Linked DNA regions of Homo sapiens: regions 1 and 2 are each linked to region 3. Evidence: promoter capture Hi-C in human tissues and cell types (Jung and others, 2019). All regions are on one chromosome and are shown on one strand. Each heading gives the region's core, a stretch centred on a gene start or on the middle of the fragment in contact. The rest is flanking DNA. Distances are from core to core; before and after follow the strand shown.

Evidence for each region. The method cuts DNA at HindIII sites, captures the fragments that hold promoters and counts their contacts. A contact is called where the count stands out against the background at its distance.
Region 1: a contact is called between the fragment with the promoter of HAS1 here and a fragment that was not itself captured in region 3, in 1 of the 25 tissues and cell types used here (stomach).
Region 2: a contact is called between the fragment with the promoter of SIGLEC14 here and a fragment that was not itself captured in region 3, in 1 of the 25 tissues and cell types used here (pancreas).

Annotation. Positions count from the first base shown.
Region 1 is chr19:51,722,741-51,725,440 of GRCh38, forward strand. HAS1 (hyaluronan synthase 1) reads right to left here and starts at 1,251. Exons shown (of 5, transcript NM_001297436.2): 1 at 1,185-1,251. The coding sequence starts at 1,193. The HindIII fragment of the contact is 37,877 bases long and covers 1-2,700 here.
Region 2 is chr19:51,645,375-51,648,074 of GRCh38, forward strand. SIGLEC14 (sialic acid binding Ig like lectin 14) reads right to left here and starts at 1,451. Exons shown (of 7, transcript NM_001098612.3): 1 at 1,349-1,451; 2 at 883-1,266; 3 at 408-686; 4 at 103-156. The coding sequence starts at 1,385. The HindIII fragment of the contact is 12,517 bases long and covers 1-2,700 here.
Region 3 is chr19:51,684,844-51,687,543 of GRCh38, forward strand. It overlaps SPACA6-AS1 (SPACA6 antisense RNA 1), which reads right to left. Exons shown (of 2, transcript NR_108100.1): 2 at 520-2,700. It also overlaps a transcript of SPACA6 not described here. Among named protein-coding and RNA genes, the nearest start is that of MIR99B, 6.4 kb to the right of the region's middle. The HindIII fragment of the contact is 5,980 bases long and covers 1-2,700 here.

The DNA of each region.
Region 1 (2,700 bases), core at 1-2,500, 38 kb after region 3:
AGTACTTTCAAAAGAGACCAGATGGCCCCCAAAAGCCTCAAATATTTAATATTGGGCCCTTTATTTAAAAAAATGTGCTGGCCCCTGACACACTGGGTTAAATAAAAATATATTATTAAAATTAATTTCACCTGTTTGTTTTTACTTTTTCAAATGTGGCCACAAGAAAATTTTAAATTAGATATTGTGGTTTTCGTTACATTTCTAGAGGACAAAACTGAGGTACAGCTTTTAAACTCTCAACATTAAACATTATTCTTTCTTCTCGAATCCCCCTTCTCTCTTCCTTTGCTTCAAACCTGGCCTTGCCTGAGTTCCTAGGGATGGCTCAATTCATGCTGGGGATCCAGAGAGTTGATTCCAGAAACACAGATGAACACACGTGTAGACACACTCCCCCACACGTGAACTCACACATGATGAGTGACACACAGAATGAAATTACTCGTGTTCTACAGGATGACCCGAGACACCCACTCAGGCCAAACACAGCGATCCCGTGACCCCCACCGACGGCCACACAGGTGAACCTGCAGACACACACCCCTCAGCAGGAAAAAGCAACACCAGCAAAGGATGTCCACGTGGCCACAAACACACAGAGCCCCAACTGAGAGTCTGGGGCAATGGGATGCACAGGGAAGATTTCAAGAGAAATAGTAGGTGACTGTCAAGCTGATACTGAACCAGATGAAATTGCTATTCTTCCAAGTTTAGAGTGGCTCAGTATCGGCGATTTCATTTGGTTCAACTTAATAGCTATTGAACGCATGAAACAGAAATCCATTCCCATGTGCCACAGGCAAATCCAACTCTCTTTCTCACTCAGTCTCTTTCATTCGCTCACTGTCGCACTCCCTCTTTCTCTCTGCCTCCCAGGGAACATAGACATACACAAGTTTGTAGCAAGATACGCAGATACAGAAATACGGACATGGCACGTCTCACCTACATGTACTTGGGATGGCCGCTCACACAGGGCAATGTATACACAGACCTGCACACTCAGCCTCACATGCTCACTGTCCCCTACACACATATGGTCACTGTCAGGCACATGGATACACACATGAAATCATGCACACACAGTTCCCCAACACACGTGGTCACACATATGGCAGTAGTTTTCCCCACATGGCTGTATACACACACACACACACACACACACACACACACACACACACCTGTCTCATCGCAGTGGGTCTGGCCGGGCTCTCTCTTCTCTCCGGCTTGCTCTCCCAGCCTCTCTGTGGCCAGAGAGCTGGAGGGGGGTCATTTGAAGACCAGCGCAGGCGGGGGCGGGAGCGAGCGCTGACGTCAGTCAGGCTAAGCTGGGCCAGGGGCTCTGAGGTCACGGCCCAGCCGGGCAGCTCCACCCGCTTCCCGCTATTACTCCCACCCCCCTCAGCCAGACGGGCCTCCCTTCCCAGGCCCCCATGTCTACCCGCGCCCCTCCTCTAGTCCTCTCTGCCATCACTCCCCCTCCTCTCCCTCCCTCCTCTATGTCTTCTTCTCTCTTCCTCCCCCCTCTCGTCCCTTGTCTCCCCTGATTTTTCTCTTCCACCTCACTTGCATTTTGGGGGTTCCCCTCATCCCCCCATCCCCTATCCCTGTATTTCCCTCCATCCCTTTCTTTCTCCCTAACCCACTATTTCTCCTCATCTCTTTGTTGGTACCCTCATCTCTCTCCCCATTACCACATTTCTCCAAGTTTCTGTCTTTCTCTCCATCCCTTTCTTCCTCTCCACTTCTCTTGCCTCCTCTCACCCTCATTTCTTTCTCTTCTTGCTTTAAAGCTCTCCCCACCTCCCCCTTCTCACCTTCCCCAGTCACCCCCGCCCTGCTTCTCCCCACAGCCGCCTCTCCTGTCCCCAGAATCCATCTCTGGGTTGGGCCCCCCAGGGACATGTCTCAGCAACTGGCAGATGGAACGAAACTCACACACGTGCGTGCTGTGGGTGTGCCTGTGTGTACGCTGGCCCGAGGCACGGCTGCCTGGAACCGGAGCTGTGAGTGAACATCTGTCCATTCAGCGCCTAACTGACGTGGGTCTGCGTGTGTGCACCAGGGTCTGGGGTGGAGAGCTGGGGCGCTGGGATTTGTATCCCCAGGGACTCAGGGATGAACACAGAGAGTTGTCGGTCAGCTGACCCTGGGGAGCCAGCCGGGGTCTGTCAGTGCTGTCACCCATCAGGGAAACTGAGTCAGAGGAAGGGTGAAAAGAGATGCGGGACCTGGGGTGCCCGAACCCCAGCCCCTCAGGACCAGATCTGTGATAAATGTCTGTTTACATGCCCTTCTTTCCATGAATTTTTTAAAAAAACTATCTGTATCTAATTCTGTTCTTCTCTCTGCTCCTCTTACTGTGAACTATTGATGTCTCACTTTCGGCCTTGGTAGCTGCCTCGGTAGCTGCCTCGTTCTTTTCTCCCTGCCTGTGACTCCAACGACCTTTGGTGTCTGGCACGGGCCAGCTCCAGGACAGGCTGAAAGACATGGAGCAGCAGAGAGAAATTCCCCCGTGCTTCTCTCTCCTCGTCTGTCCCTCCCCAAATCTCTGTCATTTTGTATCTGTCACCCCATCTCTGTTTCTCGGTCCCTCTATTTGGGTCTCTGCCTCTGTGTATTCCTGTCTGTTTCTCCTCCTCATCCCCCCTCACAGCCATTCTCTCTCTGCTTTTACCTGGGAGTGTCTGTCCC
Region 2 (2,700 bases), core at 201-2,700, 39 kb before region 3:
CCAGGGGCTGAGGGGTGAGGGAGGGTCTCCTCTCCCAATGCTGAACCCTGAGCTAATAGAAGGCTCCCATCACAGCCCCAGAGGGAAGAGGGTCTTTCCTACCTGTGCCTGTGCCATTTCTGAAGAAGATGCTGATGGCGAGGTTCTGTGGAGCATCTGGGATAGAAAGATACAGCACCAGCTTCAGAGGTGACAAGAGGGATGGGCGTGGTCCCGGGAGGGACCCAAGGAGGGGCCACAGAAACCCACCAGGTGGGGACCGCTGTCCTTCCTGCCCACACACGAGTTTTCCCTGGTTATCATTCTCTTTCTCTCTCTCTCTTCTACACACACACACACACACACACACACACCCCCCTCACTCCCACTGCCCTTGGGGACTCAGCTGTGTCCCCAGCACCACTCACAGGAGACATTGAGCTGGACAGTTCTCTCCGTGGTCACCTGAGCTCCTTGGCGTTTCACCTGACAGGTGAGGTTGGTGCCATGGTCCTCGGGCCTGGGGGTGAGGGTGAGCTCCGAGGAGCGGGTGGTCTCGGGGTCCAGGGGGCTGAGGGCATTCCCCGTCCAGGAGAATGTGAGAGGTGGTCCCGCTTCACAGGATCCTGGAAGGCTGCAGCTCAGCCTTGTGGGGCGGCCGGACTCCAGAGGCTCCAGAAAGTGGATGTCGGGTTTCTCTATCAGGGCTGAGGAGGAGACAGGGAGATACCTGGGCCCCAGGGGCTTGAGGACGTAAGGTGTGACCCCGAGAGTGGCCAGGCCTCAGGCCCCGACCTGCCCCAAGTCCTACACCTCCTCCAGCCGCCCCTGCCCAACTCCTGTCCCTGTTCTCATACGGGGGTCTCCACGTCCCAGGGTCCTCTCCTAGGGTTCCTGCCATACCTGTCACCTCCAAGTTCAGCTTATTCTGTTGGTAGCTATATTTTACATCCCTTCCTCTCTCCACGCGGAAGAAATAGCTTCCCGTGTCCTCCATTCTGGCATCTCCGATGCTCAGGGAGCAGTTCTTCTTCTGGACATCCCCAAGGAGGCGGAATCGGCCCTGGGTCTCTGGCTTCACTCTTCTGTCTGGGTTGTTTGTGGCCACAACCTCAGCGTAGTATGGGATCTCCCCGTCCCGGAACCAGTAGACGTAGAGTGGGGGAGAGGAATACCAGGATCTCCAGGGGTAAGAGAAGGAGCAGGGCACAAGGACGCACAGGCCCTCCTGCACCGTCACCGACTTCTGCACTTGCAGCTCGTACACTGGCTTCTCCTGCAGGGACCCTGGGGGGACACAGAAGCTCAGCTGCAGCTCCAGCCCCCCTTCTCACCCCTGTGCCTGTCCCTCCTCCCTCAGCTCACTCACCCCCCCACAGCAGGGGCAGCAGCAGCAGGGGCAGCATGTCTCCATCCGCCAGGGCCCCAGCCCAGTCCCAGGTCCGGCTGTCAGGGAAGGAAATGCTCCAAATGTCCAAACGTGGGGTGGGGCTGAGAAAGCCCCGACAGGAAGCCGGAGGGTGAGTGAGAGCTGTGGACGCGCACAGAAGGGGAACTTGGGCATCACGTGCTGTTGGGGTGAGGCTGGGGCTGGGAAGCCATTCTGCTCCCACCCCCACTGGACGCCGATGGTGAAGATACTGAGGCCCCCAGAGGGGCTTGTCCAGACTTGTAAGTCTAGACTCCTGAGGTCACCAGGTCCCATAGCTGCAGCACTTTCCTTATGCACCTTTGTCTACATAGGAAGGAGAACACCACTTGGCCAGCTCCCTGGGAGTCAGGGCCTCGGGACCCTCAGCGAGATGGGAGAATAAATCCTTTATGACATGATAGGAGCTGTGGTGAGGGAAGCACACGCTGGGGGTTTCAGGTGGGGAAGACTTTCCTCTTTCCAGAGGGAAGGCAAGTTGTCAGGGACAAACACATCAGGTGGACATGACCGGGTCCTTAGCAGTCAAGAGAGATGTGGTCCCCACCACCAGTTGGATTTGGGAACCTCATCTCATCCTTGTCCTTGTCCCAGGCAGCGTCAGACCCCATCCCTGATGTTGACAGCCAGATGAGGCTTGAGAGCCGGGCATTTGAAATGTGAACGTTGAGGATATGGAATACCAAGTGTGAACCCAGACCCCTCACCTACCGGCTGTTGAACTTTACAAAAGTTACCTACCCTCTCTGTGCCTCAGTTTGCTCAGCTGAAAAATGCAGACAATAATAGAATTGCTGTGTGGGGATTCAGTGAGGTCTCATGTGTAAAGTGCTTAGGACAGTGTCTGGCCCCGAGAATTCACTCATTCAACTGATGCTTCATGGGCGCCTATGGTGCACCAGGCCCCCTGTTTTAGGAGCTGGAGATACAGCAAAGGATAAACTCTTAGGATGAGAAGGTAAGTCAAAAATCCTAGTGGGGGCTCCTCTGGGCACACTGCTTATGCATACCCCTGCTCCACGAAGAACAGTAAAAAAAGAAGGCCGGGCGCAGTGGCTCACGCCTGTAATCCCAGCACTTTGGGAGACCGAGGCGGGTGGATCACGAGGTCAGGAGATCAAGACCGTCCTGGCTAACATGGTGAAACCCCGTCTCTACTAAAAATACAAAAAATTAGCCGGGCGTGGTGGCGGGCGCCTGTAGTCCCAGCTACTGGGGGGGCTGAGGCAGGAGGACGGCGTAACCCGGGAGGTGGAGCTTGCAGTGAGCCGAGATCGCACCACTGCACTCCA
Region 3 (2,700 bases), core at 173-2,672:
CATCTCGTGATTTTAGGCTCTGCCAGTGTGGGGATTATCCCACCTGCAGGGATTATGTGGTGCTCTAGGATTATCTTGGGTTTGGGGTTGATCCCCCCACATGGAAGGATTGTCTGGTGGTGCTATCGGATTATCTTGGTTTTAGGGTTGATCCCTCACATGGAAGGATTCTCTGCTACTTTGATGTTCCTCATGACCCGGTGCCGCCTGTTCTATAGTATCAACGTGTAAGTCCTTGACTCAGACCTAATTCAAGGTAGGTTAAGGTGTCCTCCTGTCTACCAGTTCCTGTTTCAGGAACTTGGGATGACCTTGTGAAGGGTAGGAAGTTTCTATTTTCCTTTGAAGTGCTGTTCCAAGAGGTAATAATAGTGGAACTTGAGTTTCAGCAGTTGATGAGAATGGTGGCCCCTGTGTCTAAGAAGTATGAGAATTACAATATTGGGTAGCAGAGACTGATAAAGATGGTGATATAGGTTGAGCATCCCTTATCCAAAATACTTGAGACAGAAAGTGTTTCAGGTTTGATTTTTTTATTTTGTATTTTGGACTATTTTCATATATATAAAATCAGATATTTGGGGATGAGACCCAAGTCCAAACACAAAATTCATTTGTTTTCATTTCATTTATATATGCCTTCTACACATAGCCTGAAGATAATTTTATACAATATTTTTGTGCATGAAACAAGGTTTTTTGTTTGTTTTAAGACAGGGTCTCACTCTATCAACCAGGCTGGAGTGCAGCCTCAACTTCCTGGGCTTAAGCAATCCTCCCACCTCAGCCTCCCTAGTAGCTGGGAGAAGAAGCATGCATCACCATGCCCTGCTAAGTTTTAAATTTTTTTATTGTAGAGATGGGAATCCCACTATGTTGCCCAGGCTGGTCTCAAATTCCTGGGCTCAAGTGATCCTCCTGCCTTAGCCTCCCAAACAGCTGGATTACAGGCATAAGCCACTGTGCCCAGCCCCATGAAACAAAGTTTTGACTGCAATCTATCACATGAGATCAAGTGATGGAATGAAATTTTTCACTTCTGACGTTACGTCGGTGCTCAAAAAGTTTTTGATTTTGGAGCATTTCAGATTCGAGATTTTTGCATTAAGGATGCTCAACCTGTACTTGTGTGCCAATGTCTGATGGGAATGGTGGCCCCCTGTTTCAGGGAGTGAAGGCAATGATGGATCCTGAGTTCTGGATATTTGTAGGAATTGCAGTAGATGAGTCTTATGTGCTGAGAGATTTGGAGCCCTGTATTTCAGAGAATGAAGGAACCAGTGGTCCCTGTGACTTGCTAACTGATGAGAACAGAACAGAGGCCTTATGTTTCAGAAACTAATGGGAATTATGGTCACTGTTCCTGGGGGGCTTAAGCAAGTCCCAGCCTAATCCACAAGTCATTTATTATTCACTCATCTCCTCATTCATTCACTTAGCAAACATTTTCCTGAGCCCCTGCTCTGAGCCATGCCTGGGTGGAGTGATATTGAGGACACAGAAATGACTCAGACCCAGACTGTGCCCTCAGTAAATTCCCAAAGACAGACCCAGACGTAGAAAATCACAACACAACAGGATCAGGGCCAGGACAAGGACTGTGATGTGGTGCCTGTCCTGATCTGTCTACAGGGCATCCAGGGTGAATGTAGAATGACAGTAACTCTAGATCGTAAGTGAAAGTGAGGGGTCTGACAAAGGGTCCTTCTTAATCATACATGAATTTGTGTGCATGACAAGTTTAAATGTACCCAGTGTCAATCCTTAGAAATAGCATATTTTCCCAGAGCAAGCCCACCCCAAAGAAGGAGCCAGAGAGGCCTGGGTTTGAATCTCTAGCTCCATCACATACTTTGTGAGCTTGGGCAACTCGCTATTCAGAACTGCATCCTATTCAGTATTCCATCCTTACAATTGGGATAATAATAGTTTCTAATAATAAGGTTTCTGTGTAATCAATGATATAATGTATAACAAATACTCATCCCAGGAACTGGCTCCAAGTAGTCATTCAATAAAGGGTATCTGTTGTCATTATTATTATCCCATTGTTAGTAATTATCAACAAATTTTAAAGGATCTAGAAGTAAGCATTTATCGAATATCTGGGTTTAGAGGCTTAAAAGCATTGGACAAAATCACTTTAAAAATCAGCAAATTTGGGCCAGGTGTGGTGGCTCAGCCAAGGTGGGAGGATCACTTGAGGTCAGAAGTTCAAGACCAGTCCAGCAAACGTGGCAAAACCCCATCTCTACAGAATACACAAAAATTAGCCGGGCCTGGTGGCGCAGGCCTGTAGTTCCAACCACGTGGGAGGCTGAGGTGGGAGAATGGCTTGAACCTGGAAGGCAGAGGTTGCAGTGATCTGAGATAATGCCACTGCACTCCAGCCTGGGCAATCCGTCTCAAAAATAAATACATACATACATACATACATACATACATACATACATACATACATAAGCAAATCTGTAAATATCAATATGCATAACCATTAGTTTCTTGACATAAAAAACCTCCCAATCTCCCAATTAACTGAATACACTAGGAATAAATAGATGAATACAATGGAATATTATATCACTATTAAAATGAATGAGGAGGTTCTATAAGCCTAGATATGGGAGGATCTTTGGATATCATGTAAAAAAAAAAAAAAAAACCAAGGTGCAGAATAATGTGATCCTATCAGGGGACAGA